2 separate regions of the Homo sapiens genome follow, and region 1 is linked to region 2. Evidence: promoter capture Hi-C in human tissues and cell types (Jung and others, 2019). All regions are on one chromosome and are shown on one strand. Each heading gives the region's core, a stretch centred on a gene start or on the middle of the fragment in contact. The rest is flanking DNA. Distances are from core to core; before and after follow the strand shown.

The links. Contacts are between HindIII fragments. The study calls those that stand out against the background at their distance.
Region 1: a contact is called between a fragment that was not itself captured here and the fragment with the promoter of ALKBH8 in region 2, in 1 of the 25 tissues and cell types used here (aorta).

Annotation. Positions count from the first base shown.
Region 1 is chr11:107,866,340-107,874,020 of GRCh38, reverse strand. No RefSeq gene overlaps it. Among named protein-coding and RNA genes, the nearest start is that of SLC35F2, 11 kb to the right of the region's middle. The HindIII fragment of the contact is 6,812 bases long and covers 1,054-7,681 here.
Region 2 is chr11:107,561,462-107,568,716 of GRCh38, reverse strand. It overlaps ALKBH8 (alkB homolog 8, tRNA methyltransferase), which reads left to right and starts at 2,982. Exons shown (of 12, transcript NM_138775.3): 1 at 2,982-3,116. RefSeq lists enhancers at 682-761, 2,690-2,749, 2,596-3,112, 2,820-3,309, 3,113-3,631. The HindIII fragment of the contact is 10,640 bases long and covers 1-7,255 here.

The DNA.
Region 1 (7,681 bases), core at 3,210-5,709, 300 kb before region 2:
TTAAAAATTAGCCAGGTGTGGTGGTGCTCGCTTGTAGTCCCAGCTACTCCAGAATCTGAGGCAGAAACATCCTGTGAGCCCATGAGTTTGAGGCTGCAGTGAGTTATGACTATACCACTGCACTCCAGCCTGGGTGACAGAGTGAGACCCTATCTCTAAAAAAAAAAAAAGTATCATATAGCCTACATTATCATACAATTAAGTTAGAAATCAACTATAGAAAATAATTAAAAACTTGGCCAGGTGCAGTGGCCCACGCCTGTAATTCTAACACTTTGGGAGGCTACGGCATGTGGATCACCTGAGGTCAGGAGTTCAAGACCAGCCTGGCCAATATGGCGAAACCCCCTCTCTACTAAAAATACAAAAATTAACCAAGTGTGGTGGCTTATGCCTATAGTCCCAGCTACTCAGGAGGCTGAGGAGGGAGAATCACTTGAACCTGGGCGGCAGAGGTTGCAGTGAGCCGAGATCGCGCCACTGCACTCCAGCCTGGCGACAGAACGAGACTCCGTCTCAAAAAAAAAAAAAAGTTAAAAACTCTTATTATGCTTGGAAATTAAGGGATGTGTCTTTCCAACTCACGAGTCAAAGAAGAAGTTATAATGGAAACTGGAAAATACGTAGAAGTGAATGATAGTAAAGCCATTATCAAAACTCGTGAGAGGCAACTCAAAATTAATGAGTTTAGAACGCAGTTTAAGGAGTTAGGGAAAAAGCAACATAAGCCCAAATAATGTAGAAGGAAGGAAATAATATAAATTGGAACAAAAATTACTGAAGTAGGGCAAGGGTCGGTGGCTCAAACCTGTAATCTTAGCACTTTGGGAGGCCGAGACGGCAGATAGCTTGACCCCACGAGTTGGAGACCAGCCTGGGCAACCCAGTCTGTACAAAAGATACAAAAACAGCCAGGCATGGCAGCTGGCACCTGTGGTCCCAGCTACTTGGGAGGCTGAGGTGGGAGGATCACCTGAGCCTGGGAGTTTGAGGCTGAAGTGAGCCATGTTCATGCCACTGCACTCCAGCCTAGGTGAGACTCTATCTCAAAAATAAATAAATAAATAAGTAAATAAATAAAATATAGAGAGGATTAAAAAAGAGTTCCCAGAGGAAGGAATCCCTTTGCTTACTGTTGAAGGATAAGACTTCTCCTTAATCTAATGGAAAGGTATAGCTGTGCAAAATGGCATGTTGTAGTTCACGAGCTGTAAGTAACTTGGTCTGGCTAGAGGGATAGTGGTTGTTAAGTGGGTGCAGAAGAGTGAAGAAAGGAAAAGGCAGTGAGAGAGGCACTGAGATTAATACATTAAAATTCATGGAAGATGTGTATGAAAAGATAAATATATGTTTTTGGGAGGTCACTTTATGATTTAGCTTCTTTTGAGTGCTAACATGATTCTCAAGATACTTATGGGGCTGTTCTCCATAGATGGGCAGGAAATTCTCTGTGGGTGGGAGAACACAATATAAGTAATCTAAGAACAAGATAATTTTAGATAATTTCTGTATGAGTTTGTTAGGGTTGCCATAACAAGATATAACAGACTGAGTGGCTTAAACACATTTATTTTCTCACAGTCTTGGAGGTTAGAAGTCTGAAATCAACATGGTGGCAGAATTGGCTTTTTTGTTGAGACAGAGTTTCGCTCTCGTGGCCCAGGCTGGAGTGCAATGGGGCGGTCTCTGCTCACTGCAACCTCCGCCTCCCAGATTCAAGCGATTCTCCTGTCTTGGCCTCCCGTGTAGCTGGAACTACAGGCATGTGCCACCATGCCCGGCTAATTTTGTATTTTTAGTAGAGATGGAGTTTCTCCATGTTGGTCAGGGTGGTCTTGAATTCCTGACCTCACGTGATCCGCCGGCCTTGGCCTTCCAAAGTGCTGGGATTACAGTCGTGAGCCACCGCGCCAAGCCAGAACTGGTTTCTTTTGAAGCATCTCTCGTCGCTTGTACAGGGCCATCTCTCTGTGTTTTCACATGGTCTTTCCTCTGTAACTGTCTGTGTCTTAATTTCCTCTTGTTATAAGGATACTAGTTATATTGGATTAGGGCCTACCCTAATGTCTTCATTATAACTTAATACCTCTAAAGACTTCGTCGCTGCAATCACATTCTGAGGCACTGGAGGTTAGGACTTCAACATATGAATTTTGGTAGACCTCATTATAGCCCTCCGTCCACCTCTCCTCCAAATTCATACGCTCACCCTGTTCTAACTGTGCCAGAAATCTTAACTCATTTCAGCATCAAGTGTAAGCACAAAATATAATCTAAATCAGGTATGAGTGAGACTCATAGGAGTTATGATTTGTCCTGAGGCAAAATTCCTCCCCAGCTGTGAATCTATAAAACCAGACAAGTTATCTGCTTCCAAAATACAATGATGGCATAGGCATAGCATAGTCTTTCCCATTCCAAAAGTCAGAAATAAAAAATAAATCCCAGCCGGATGCGGTGGCTCATGCCTATAATCCCAGCACTTTGGTGGCCGAGGCGGGTGGATCACCTGAGCTCAGGAGTTCGAGACCAGCCTGGCCAATATGGCGAAACCCTTTCTTTATTAAAAAAGCAAACATTAACCAGACCTGGTAGCTTATTATGCCGGTAGTCCCAGCTACTCAGGAGGCTGAGGAGGGAGAATTGCTTGAACCCAGGAGGCGGAGGTTGCAGTAAGCCAAGATCATGCCACTGCACTCCAGCCTGTGTGACAGAGCGAGACTCTGTCTCCAAAAAACAAACAAACGAACAAAAAAAGACTAAGGCTCCAGAATAATCTTTGGCTTGATGCTCTGTCCTCGGCCCACCAGCGTGGTGGTCCACCCCCTCAGCCCTGGGTGACTTCAATATATACATTTCTGGGCAGGGGGCGGTGCACAATTCAGCCCCCAACAATACCTATGATGAAAATGTAACCTATCAATTTGATAGGGAGAGACTGGGAACCAGTGGATTAAGTCAAGGACATCTTCTCTAAGGAGGCAACACTGGACCTAAGACTATGCTTAGATCTGAAGGCAGATTATTCCGGGCAGAGGAAATGAGACAATAGAAATAAAGGGAAAGAGAAAGAACACAGTATGCAGGTTGAAGAGTTAGGCAGCGCATTTAAGCTAGAGCAAGGAGCCTAAATTTCATGCTAAATACAACAGGCAGGCATTGTAGGCTTATAAGCAGGGGAGAGTGACCTTATTTCGTAGGGATTTTGGGTAATGGACTGTAGGAGGCAAGAATAGAATAAGTAGGAAGATATACCAGTCTGTTGCAGCATATAGGCCACAGATTTTGGTGGTTTGGCCTATGGTGGTGAAGACAGAGAAAAGGGAATGGATTTCAGATATATTTTGAAAATGAATATAAAAACTGGGCTGGGCGTGGTGGCTCATGCCTGTAATCCCAGCACTTTGGGAGGCTGAGGTGGGTGGATCACCTGAGGTCAGGAGTTCAAGATCAGCCTGACCAATATGGTGAAACCCTGTCTCTACTAAAAATACAAAAATTAGCCAGGCGTGGCGGCGTGTGACTGTAGTCCCAGACACTAGGGAGGCTGAGACAAGAGAATTGCTTGAACCCGGGAGGCCGAGGTTGCAGTGACCCGAGATCGTGCCGCTGTACTCCAGCCTGGGTGACAGAGCGAGACTCTGTCTCAAAAAAAAAAAAAAAAAAAAAAGGAAAGACTGGCTATTGAATTGAATGAGAGAAATAAGAGAAAAGGAGAAACCATGTATGATCCCTAGATTCTTTTATTTTTAAAATTAATTTTTTTTCCATAGAAATGAGGTCTTACTTTATTGCTTGTTTCAAACTCCTGGCCTCAAGTGATCCTCCCAGCTCAGCCTCCCAAAGTGCTGGGATTACAGGCATGAGCCACCATGCCTGGCAGATCCCTAGTTTCTTAGTTTGAGAACTGATAGATTGAAGTGCTTTATGTTGCAATGGGTGTAAGTGAGGAAAGTAAGAAATGGAGGAACAGAGAGAGTTTTGTTTGGGCTGTGTTTGAGATGCCTTTAAGACTTCCTAGTGGATATGGCAAGTCAGCAATTATATATACAAATGTGAAGCTCAGGGGAAGCCTGTGCTGGAGCTAAAAAAGTCAGGGAGTCATTAGCCTATGGTTGGTATTTTAAACCACTGCATTAGACAAAAAGGGACTGCTATGGTTAATGACACAGTTTAAAACTTCTCAAGATGATTTTTTGTTTTTCTCTTTTGTGTTTTTATTTTTTGTACAACCTATATTTGTTTCCTTTTCATTTTCCCTTCAGTACTTATTTTAGAAGTTAGATGACCTCAGGAAAAGGGATTCAGGCAATGGTACCTGGAAAAGAGGTGAAGTGAAGAGAAATCTTTCAGGACTGTAAGCAGAAAAGAAGGGGTGAAGTGGGAGCTGGCTGGGACCAAGGGATAATCAGGAATAAGCTCATTTCTTGGAGCCTTTACTCCTCAATTAAATAATAAGGTTAGGCTGGGCATGGTGGCTCATGCCTTTTTGGGGGTTTTGGGGAATGGAGTCTCACTGTGTCACCCAGGCTGGAGTACAGTGGTGTAAACTCGGCCCACTGCAACCTCTGCCTCCCAGGCTCAAGCTTTTTTTTTTTTTTTGAGGCAGAGTCAGTCTCACTCTGTCACCCGGGCTAGAGTGCAGTGGTGCGATCTCAGCTCACTGCAACCTCTGCCCCCTGGGTTCAAGCAATTCTCCTGCCTCAGCCTCCCAAGTAGCTGGGATTACAGGCACCCGCCACCACACCCCGCTAATTTTTGTATTTTTAGTAGCAACAGGGTTTCACCATGTTGGCCAGGTTGGTCTTGAACTCCTGACCTTAGGTGATCCACCCTTCTTGGCCTCCCAAAGTGCTGGGATTACAGGTGTGAGCCACTGCACCCGGCCTAGCTCAAGCTCTTTTAATCCCAACACTTTCAGAGGCCAAGGCAGGAGGACCACTTGAGCCCAGGAGTTCAAGTCCATTCTGGGCAACATGGAGAAACCCCATCTCTACAAAAAATACAAGAAATTAGCTGAGCATGGTGGTGTGCACCTGTGGTCCCAGCTATTTGGAAGGCTGAGGTGGGAGGATCACTTGTGCCTGAGGAAGTTGAAGCTGCAGTGAGCCGTGATCACACCACTGCAATCCAGTCTAGGTGAGAGAGTGAGACCTTGTCTCAAAAAAAAAAAAAAAAAAAAAAAAAGAAAGCTGGGCGCGGTGGCTCACGCCTGTAATCCCAGAACTTTGGGAGGCCAAGGCGGGTGGATCACGAGGTCAGGAGTTCAAGACCAGCCTGGCCAACACAGTGAAACCCCGTCTCTACAAAAAATACAAAAATTAGCTGGGCATGGTGGCAGGTGCCTGTAATCCCAGCTACTCCGGAGGCTGAGGCAGGAGAAAAGCTTGAACCCGGGAGGCCGAGGCTGCAGTGAACCCAGATCGCACCACTGCACTCCAGCCTGGGCGACAGAACGAGACTCTGTCTCAAAAAAATAAATAAATAAATAAATAAATAAAATAAAAATAAGGGCAGTTAGGGTTGTGCAAAGTACTTTCCTCTCTATTAAATTGTAAACAATATGAAGACAAGAACCAAGTCTTAATTACTCCTACATTCTTCGTGCCATCTAGCATGGGGCCCTGAACATAGTAGGTGTTCTAAAATGTTTTTGGAGGGAAAGAAGGAAGGAAAGGTTGATGGAAGAGTAAAAGTATCTTTCACATATTGAATATCAGAGAGCACATCTAGAAATGTGGTCTGCTCATAATTTGCATTCAACCAATATATAGTTGATTGATTTGTAATGTGTCCTATAATAAGATAATGGTAATAAGGCTAATTCTCTAAACAAAGTTGCCATCTAAGCAGATAGTATTATTGATTCCCTCTGCTTAATGACAGGTAATTCTGACTTTTTTTTTTTTTTTGAGACGGAGTCTCACTCTGTCGCCCAGGCTGGAGTGCAGTGGTGCGATCTCAGCTCACTGCAAGCTCCGCCTCCCAGGTTCACGCCGTTCTCCTGCCTCAGCCTCCCGAGTAGCTGGGACTACAGGCACCCACCACTGTGCCCAGCTAATTTTTTGTATGTTTAGTAGAGACGGGGTTTCACTGTGGTCTCGATCTCCTGACCTCGTGATCTGCCCGCCTTGGCCTCCCAAAGTGATGGGATAACAGGCGTGAGCCACCACGCCCGGCCAATTCTGACATTTTCATTTCTTTGGTACCTTGTATACTAATCTAGGCCATTCAAATCGAAGACAGATTGACACTGATCAGTATTCTTCGAATACTTGTGAAAGAGAAAATAAAGAGGCTTAGCTGGAATAATGCAGCTATTGTCCTTGTGAGCCTCAAGTATAGTAGAAAGAAATGTATTTAATAGGATGCTGCAAACAGAATTTTTTAAAATAAAGCTTTTTAAGTAAGTGTTTTAAAATGAACTTTAATTATAGATTATATTTGGAAAGTTCCCACTGCATGTTTATAGAAATGACTTTAGTTTAACTACCTTAGACATTGGTTCTAGATTAAAGGAGTCTTAATTCTTTTTTTTTTTTTTTTTTTTGAGACAGGGTCTCATTCTGTCACCCATGTTGGAGCGGAGTGGCATGTTCATGGCTCACTGCAGCCTGCACCTCCCAGGCTCAAGGAATCCTCCTACCTCAGCCTCCTGTATAGCTGGGGCCACAGGTGCAAGTTACCATGCCCAGCTAATTTTTATGTTTATTATTTATTTATATTTTTTGTAGAGATGGGGTCTTGCTATACTGCCCAGGCTGGTCTCAAACTCCTGGCCTCAAGTGATCCTCTGCCTTGGCCTTCCAAAGCCACTTCTTTACTACTGTGATATTTTTAGTATTCAAATATTCCTCACAAATAATATAATATAAAATCGTGGCTGGGCATGGTGGCTCATGCCTGTAATCGCAGTACTTTGGGAGGCTGAGGTGGGTGGATCACCTGAAGTCAGGAGTTCGAGACCAGCCTGGTCAATGTGGCGAAACCCCATCTCTACTAAAAATATACAAATTAGCTGGGTGTGGTGGCCTATGCCTGTAGTCCCAGCTACTTGGGAGGCTGAGGCAGGAGAATTGCTTGAACCCAGGAGGCAGAGGTTGCAGTGAGCCGACATCATGCCCCTGCACTCCAGCCTGGGCGACACAGTGATACTCCATCTCAAAAAAAGAAAAAAAAATCATAAACACTTAGTGCATTAGGCTGCTCTTATGTTGCTATAAAGAAATATCTGAGGCTGAGTAAGTTATTAAAAAAAGAGATTTAGGTGAGGCACAGTGGCACATACCTATAATCCCAGCACTTTCTGGGGCTGAGGCCAGAGGATTACTTGAGCCCGGGAGTTCGAGACCAGCCTGGAGAACATAGTGAGACTCTATCTCTACAAAAATTTTAAAAATATAAAAATTAGCCGGGATGGTAGTGCATGCTTATAGTCCCAGCTACTCAGGAGGCTGAGGTGGGAGGATTGCCTGAGCCCAGAAGGTCGAGACTGTAGTAAGCCATGATTGTGCCACTGCACTGCAGCCTGGGTGACAGAGCAAGATCCTGTCTCAAATAATAATAATGAGATTTAATTGGTGGCTCAGAGTTCTGTAGGCTTTACAGGAAGCATGGCACTGGCATTTGCTTCTGGTGAGGCCTCAATAAGCTTACAATCACAGTGGAAGGTGATGGAGAG
Region 2 (7,255 bases), core at 1,733-4,232:
CTTTTCAGCTCAACATTTATTAAATTTCTAGTATTACAAGACTATGGAAGACATTGTGGTTACATAATAAATAAAACAAGGTCTCAGTGTACCTGAAAATCTTTTGGGGAATCATCTTCCTTAGAAGAAATGGTCTATGCAATATTCCAAGAAAAGATAAGGGTCTGTATACAAAGGATGTCACACAAAATTGTATATGTATTCACCTTTTTCTGGAGATATTGAGACATGGATGGGCAGCAGATAATGGGAAATGAAGGCTTGTAACTCAGGAGAAGAAGATAAATGAATAATCACTTAACAGCTAATCTCTGTTTGGTGTTTTATTAATTATCACGTAAATCTCAACAAAATAAATGCTGTTTTGTAGTTTTGATTTCAGGTCATACTCCAATGCCCCCATATTCTTTAGAAACCACTCTGGTTTCTAAAGGGAAGTGTTAATCAAGTTTAGCCTAAAGCTGCCTCCTTACATATTTAAGTTCAGCCTAAAGGTTTTTCTGTACATCGTGAACAAGTGGAGGAGTAAACCAACCATAGCCCACACCTGTGCCAATCGCTGAGTTTTGGCCAATCAAATGTAGCCAATTGTTTGAACAGTGTTCAAATAAGGCAAACACCAACCTGTAACCAATAACAGCTGTTTCTGCACCTCACTTCTGATTTCTGTACATCATTTCCTTTTTTTTTTTTTGTCTACAAATCCTCCACCACATGGCTGTGCTGGAGTCTCTCCAAATCTGCTGTGATTCTGGGGGCTGCCCGATTTACGAATCAAAAGTTCATTGCTCAATTAAACTCCTTTAAATTTAATTTGGCTAAAGTTTTTCTTTTAATAGAAGCCAGGGCTGAAGATAAAGATTAGGGAATGATTCACAAATCTCTTTATAACTCTGGGGAGGGCAGACAGGAAGAGACTAGAATAACAGAAAAGAGTCAAACTCAAAATCTGAGGGATTGCCTATATTTAATTACGGACAGAGTGAGAGAAACTAGTGGAAAATTCTGAAAGTAAGTGATCAGATCGTATAAAGAGAATTAAAAGAGAGGTGCAGAAAAAAAGTTTTAAAAGCTTCAGCACCTTAAAGCAGGACAAATACTGAGATGAAGTAATTGAATTTGATCAGTAAGAGATAAGAGGATATTTTACACTGTTATCCAGTTTGGTAGACACCGGCCACTTGTGGCTACTTAAGTTTAATTGAAACTAAAATTTAAACATTCAAAATTCATTTCCTTAGTCATACTAGCCACATTTGAAATGCTCATAAGCCACACGTTAACTAGTGTCTATTATGTTGGACAGCTCAAACTATAAAATATTTCCATCATTGCAGAAAGCTCTATGGGGATGTGTTTTTGAAAGCATCCAGTAGTGCAGAAGCAGAATTGCAATGGGGAGATTTCCTGTGTGTCCTCTTATACTCATGTAGCTTGCAATGTCTGGTGGATTTGACCTCTCCAGCTTGCACTTGCCTCCTCATTTTTACTATTAAGTTTTGGTCTCACCCTTTCTTTCCTAGACTATTGCAATGCTTGCCTATCTGCCTCTTCTGTTCTTTCATGTTTGTAACCTATTCTCCACACAAATCATTCCGCCACTCAACAGCACTCTTTTTTCACTGCCACTTTTCCTGGTCAGCCAGCTATTTTATTGTTAGTCCACTGTGGTGCACTGCAGATAGGGGCCATTGTATCAACAACATGGGAAGGTGATTCCTCTTCCCCTACACCTTTCCCTCCCTGCACTCACATAGCTCATAAACCAATGCAGGTAGAAGGATTATGGTACATTTATATAACAAATAACAGAGCAGGAACAACTGCTAATCATCACCCTCTCCTTTGTCTTTTACTTATGATCTGTTACCAGCTCTTTTTTCTTTCCCTCTGCCACTACTGGGCTTGTTAATATTTCGTTACTTTTCACTTCATCAGTCATCTTCTAGTCTCTCCTCCCACTTGCCACAAGAAGCTCTGGTCATATCATTTCATTTCTCTAACCTTCCTCCCTGCAACTCCCACTCTGCAGGCCTACAGAATTCTGTCTTGCTTCCTTCACCATTCTTCCACACATCTTTCTATTACTCTGTGGTACTCACCATTCCCCTGGCACATTCATGCATATTCACTTCCTTCCCTCCCGCCCATGCAATGCCATCTTTCAGACCCCAGGATCCTCTCCCATATCTCTGTGAACCCTGAATATCTGAGACAGGTCTCAGACAATTTAGGAAATTTATTTTGCCAAAGTTAAGGACGCCCGCCCGTGACACAGCCTCAGGAGGTCCTGATGATATGTGTCCAGGGTGGTCGGGGCACAGCTTGGTTTTATACATTTTAGGGAGACATGAGGCATCAATCAATATATGTAAGATGAACATTGGTTCCGTCCAGAAAGGAGGGACAAATTGAAGCAGAGGCGGGCCAACTCAAAGTGAGGAGGGGGCTTCCAGGTCGCACGTATTACAGCTGAGAGACAAATGGTTGCATTCTTTTGAGTTTCTGATGAGCCTTTCCAAAGGAGGCAATCAGATATGCATTTATCTCAGTGAGCAGAGGGATGACTCAGAGGGATGACTTTGAATAGAATGGGAGGCAGGTTTGCCCAAGCAGTTCCTAGCTTGACTTTTCCCTTTAGCTTAGTGATTTTGTGGCACCAAGATTTATTTTCCTTTCTCACCTCTAATAAGATTCAGGAGGAAATATGCACGAAGAATAGAAGGTGCCAGGGGACATTGCTGAAAGACCAAAGGGCCCAAACCTGTTTGACCTTGTCCATTTGGAGAGCAACAGATAAAAATATAGCTGCACTACCAATTATTACTACTCCCCCCAAAAAGACAACTGAATTTTCAGTGTAACAGACAGCACTTTACAAAGACACTTGGTCGAAAAAGGGTCACTCCCGGGCTCTGGGAGGCGAAGAGGACTGTGGGAGCGCTGTTCGTTGTCCCGCGGGCTCATGGGAAATGTAGTGCAGTTTTCTCCAACATGGCCGCGCCCAGGGGAGATGGCGTGCAAGTATCCGCTGCGGTGTTCTGGTGCTAGAGTGGAGAGGCTGGCAAAGAAGAAGGCACACGCATGGTGAGAATCCGGCCTGAGCCGAAGCGGAGGTGTGTGGCACTTCTTACTGGCGGGCATACGGGCAGCAAATCACCGCTTCCTCTTTTCAGCCTCTTCCGGTCTTCTCTATCCGCCTTGCCAGCTAGGGCTGAGAACCTAGGGAAAGGGGATGGATCCCAGAGGCGCCCTTGGTGCAGTGTGGGCAGTAGGGTGTCTGCGTTGGGTGGTTCTCTCAGTGTTTAGGGTGCATGTGTTTGTGTTTGGTTCGGGCGCTCACGTGGTGCCTGTGTCAATCTTCTGTTTTCTTTGGGGTTGGAGAGGACGGTTGCAACATGGGGCGTGTTAGTGTGGCGCTTCTGGGGCTTTTCTGACCGGTGACAATCGGTCTGATTGCATCGATGCAAAGGCAGTGCTGATGATCTGATCCCTTGCGCAGCTGAGTCTTCCTGTGCTCTTATTTGAGCAATCCCTGCGACTCCTGGACCTCTGGTAGCGTCAGCCTGTTATTTTGATAGATTTCATTGAATATTTATTGTCAGTTGTATGTCAGGCACCAAGTCTGTGCCCTTAAATAGATGACAGTTTTCTGGCCGAAGCCCAACACAAACAGGCAATTATAATACCATGTGAGAACTCTAGAGATAGAGGTCCATGCTAGGTGTTAATGAAAACGTTGAAGAAGGCCACCAAACTCAGAATTCTGGAGGAGGGGAGGTTTAGGAGGTAAGACAGCAAAGTCGATTTAGGTTTATTCGACAAATGGTTATTGAGTGGCTGCTAGGTGCTAAATCCTGTTTAAGTGCTGGGTGCTACAGGGTGAACAATAGAGACAAAATCTCTACTTCATGGAGTGAGTGTTCTTTATTCAGTTATGGGGAAAGACAGAATAAACAAATTAATGAGAGTGTAAGAAAATATGTAGTAAGTGTTATTCAAAGAGTTAAAACGGGGTGCCGTGACAAGTGATGGGGTGAATTTTTTTCTAAAAATTTTAAATCTTTATTTTCTTTTTAAATAGATGATGCAGTTTAAATAGCTACTAACTTCAAAAGTCATGAAAGAAGAAAGCTCCCTTTCATTCCTTTACTCATCGATCCATTTTCCTTCCCTGGAGGCAACCCATATCACCAATTTCTTGTGTGTCCTAAAGATTTATATGTAAACTCTGTATACCAGTGCCGTACGTTAAAATTGGGCCTCGTTTGATAGGAAGTTAGATTCTTTCTAATCTTTGCTATTAATTATTAGGTTGTGCAAAAGTAATCATGGTTTTTGCATTTTTTTAAACATATAAGTATAGGAACATTTGTCTATACTGCTTGTTTCATAATAGGCTCTCTATTATTCAAGGAGGGCATGATGTACATACTACTATTACCACGTAGGGCAATATCTAGTAGGATATATTGGCTTTAAACTCACTAACAAGCAAGTAGCAGAGCATGCATAATCTCCAAACTTTCATTATCCCACAGAGAGTACGCTTAGGCTGGAGCTGGCTGAACCGGACTCAGCATGGCTAGTATCATAGTTAATAGTGACTTCACTCCAGTAATGTCACAGGGAGCATCCAAGTATCTGTGCATTAGTGGAAACTCTGGCCAGGGAAGTGGCTTTGTCAGAAGGGGGCACCTCCAGACCTCAGCAGCTGGTATCAGCCTATCCTTGTTGAGATGACTCAGATATGTTGGGCCAGCACATTGCCTAGCCACTGGAATGGTGGAAAACTGAGCCTCAAAGGCCATTTAGTGTCTTTCTTCACGTGCAATAATATTGCATGACTGAGGGAGAGAAAAAGGAAAGGGATGACAAAAATGTGGTTATGAGGCTCCACCTGCTGGTGCTGGACTCTTAGTGGCAGACATTTTAAAAAGATATATTTAGCATCGTTTCTTTCTCATTCCTTCTTTGCAGTGTTTGCTCATGTGAAATATTAAAAATTCTGTAGTGCAGTCATCCCTTGTTCTCCATGACATACTGCAAAGTTGCTGTTCCACAGATGAAGATCTTGAAATGGAATGGCTCTAAAATAGCTCCTTTGAAGGGCCTCAGATATTCTTTGTTTTGTTAAGCCATTTTGATCTGCTGCTTCTGAAAATCAACAGTAATAAATAAATAATAATAAATAAATTTAATTCTAAGAAAGCTATGGGATAGGCACTATTATTTTTATCCCTATTCCTAGATAAAGAAACTGGAACACAGAGCTATATAACCAACTCATCTAGGATTATACAGCTAATAATCAGTGGTTGAGCTGAGATTTGAACCTGGAACATGGACTCCTAAACACTGTATTATATTACCTCATAGCACTGAATGAGGCTCTGTGGTAACTAAGAAAAGTGTGATTTAATCCCGCCTTCAGAAAGCTCACAGTTCAGTGGAAGGGGACAGATACTAAAACAAATAATTATAATTAATGCAATGTTAGACATGTCCATTCACTTATCCCCTTCCTGTCTTAATGACGACTGACTCCTAAACCTTTTTAACCTCAGTTCCTTTCCTAGGAGCCACTTTATTTTGTCACTTGCCAGCCAGACATTGCAACTCTGTATCTCACAATACCTTAAACATTATTCTATCCTAAATATGACTCATTACCTCCTATACTGAGCAGCTCTTCCTGAACCTCCTCCTGACTTTCCAGTTTTGAAGTGGTAGCACTCATCTCTTAGTCACTCAGCCTCTAACTGGTTAACAAGTAATCTTTGATTCCTGTCTCCCTCATATCTGGGTAGTCATCGAGGCCTCTTGATTCCGCCTGAACTTTTCACTCACCCTTCCTCTTTCTCCTCTCCCCCTATTTCGCTTCTTTCTGTTGCCCCCAGCCTAGATCAGGCCAGCATTTCTAATTAACAAGCTGGATTATTATTATTATTTTTTTTACCTCTCATCTCTCTGCTATGCTGCCAGCCAGCCTGCCTGCCTCACTGGCCTTACATCCTAGTATGTACCCCCTGTGCTAGGAAGCTGGACTGCTGGCATTTTAAGAGACTTGGCATTTGTCTTCTATACTAAAGATTAGTAATTAGAATTTTGACTGTTTATGATTTCATGTGAAATAAGATAAATAAGATTTTATTTAACCCCCAAATTTGTATATTTGGTTGACTTTGAAGACTTTAAAGTCCGCAGAGAGTGGGACCGGTCTAAAAAAATTATGCCTGTGTCTTGGTGTCTTGGCCAAACATGTCCATTTTGGTTTTAGCTTCTGCTCTTTACTGCCTCACTGAATACTTTCCTTTTTATTTGATTCTATAGTGTTCTTATCCTTCAGTACATGGCACAAATCTCCTGTTTTGAGGCCTTCCCAACTTTTCCAGTTTACATACTTTTTTTTTTTTTTTGAGATGGAATTTCACTCTGTTGCCAGGCTGGAGTGTAGTAGCATGATCTTGGCTCACTGCAACCTCTGCCTCCCGGGTTCAAGCGATTCTCGTGCCTCAGCCTCCCAAGTAGTTGGGACTACAGGTGCCCACCACCACACGTGGCTAATTTTTTGTACTTTTAGTAGAGACAGAGTTTCACCATGTTGACCAGGCTGGTCTTGAACTCCTGACCTCAAGTGATCTGCCTGCCTTGGCCTCCTAAAGATTACAGGTGTGAGTCACTGCTCCCAGCCCACATCCATCTTATTTTTGTCTCTAATTTGTGTCATACCTAAAGACTGTACCATCAGCATTAAATTATATAAAGATGTGTCATAGTCTTATTGTTTAGTGTTTGTTTTCCACAACTAAGTTACAAACTTGTTGAAAGCATAAACTATGTACTTTATTATGGTTGCATGCTGCAGGGTGCTGAGACTGTGTGTATTCACTCATTTATTATTCATTTAGCCCTACCATCAAATATTTATTGAGCAACTACTATGTGCTGGCATTCCTGCTCTCTTGGGATTTATATCATGATGGAGGAGTTAAGCTAACAGATGAATCATCACAAATTATGTTACATTTTGTGAACAAAATAAAAGACTACTGTGATAAAGTGTGATAAAGCATGATATTGGGTGCTGATTTGGATGGTGTGATTATAGAGACCTCTTTGGGATTCTGTTATTTAAAAAATTGTAGATATAAAATATATGACACATACAGTTTTTAAAATAGTAAAACAAACACCTACACCTACCATGTAACTGAAGAAACACCCTTTGATGCTCCTATGTGTCACTTTCATG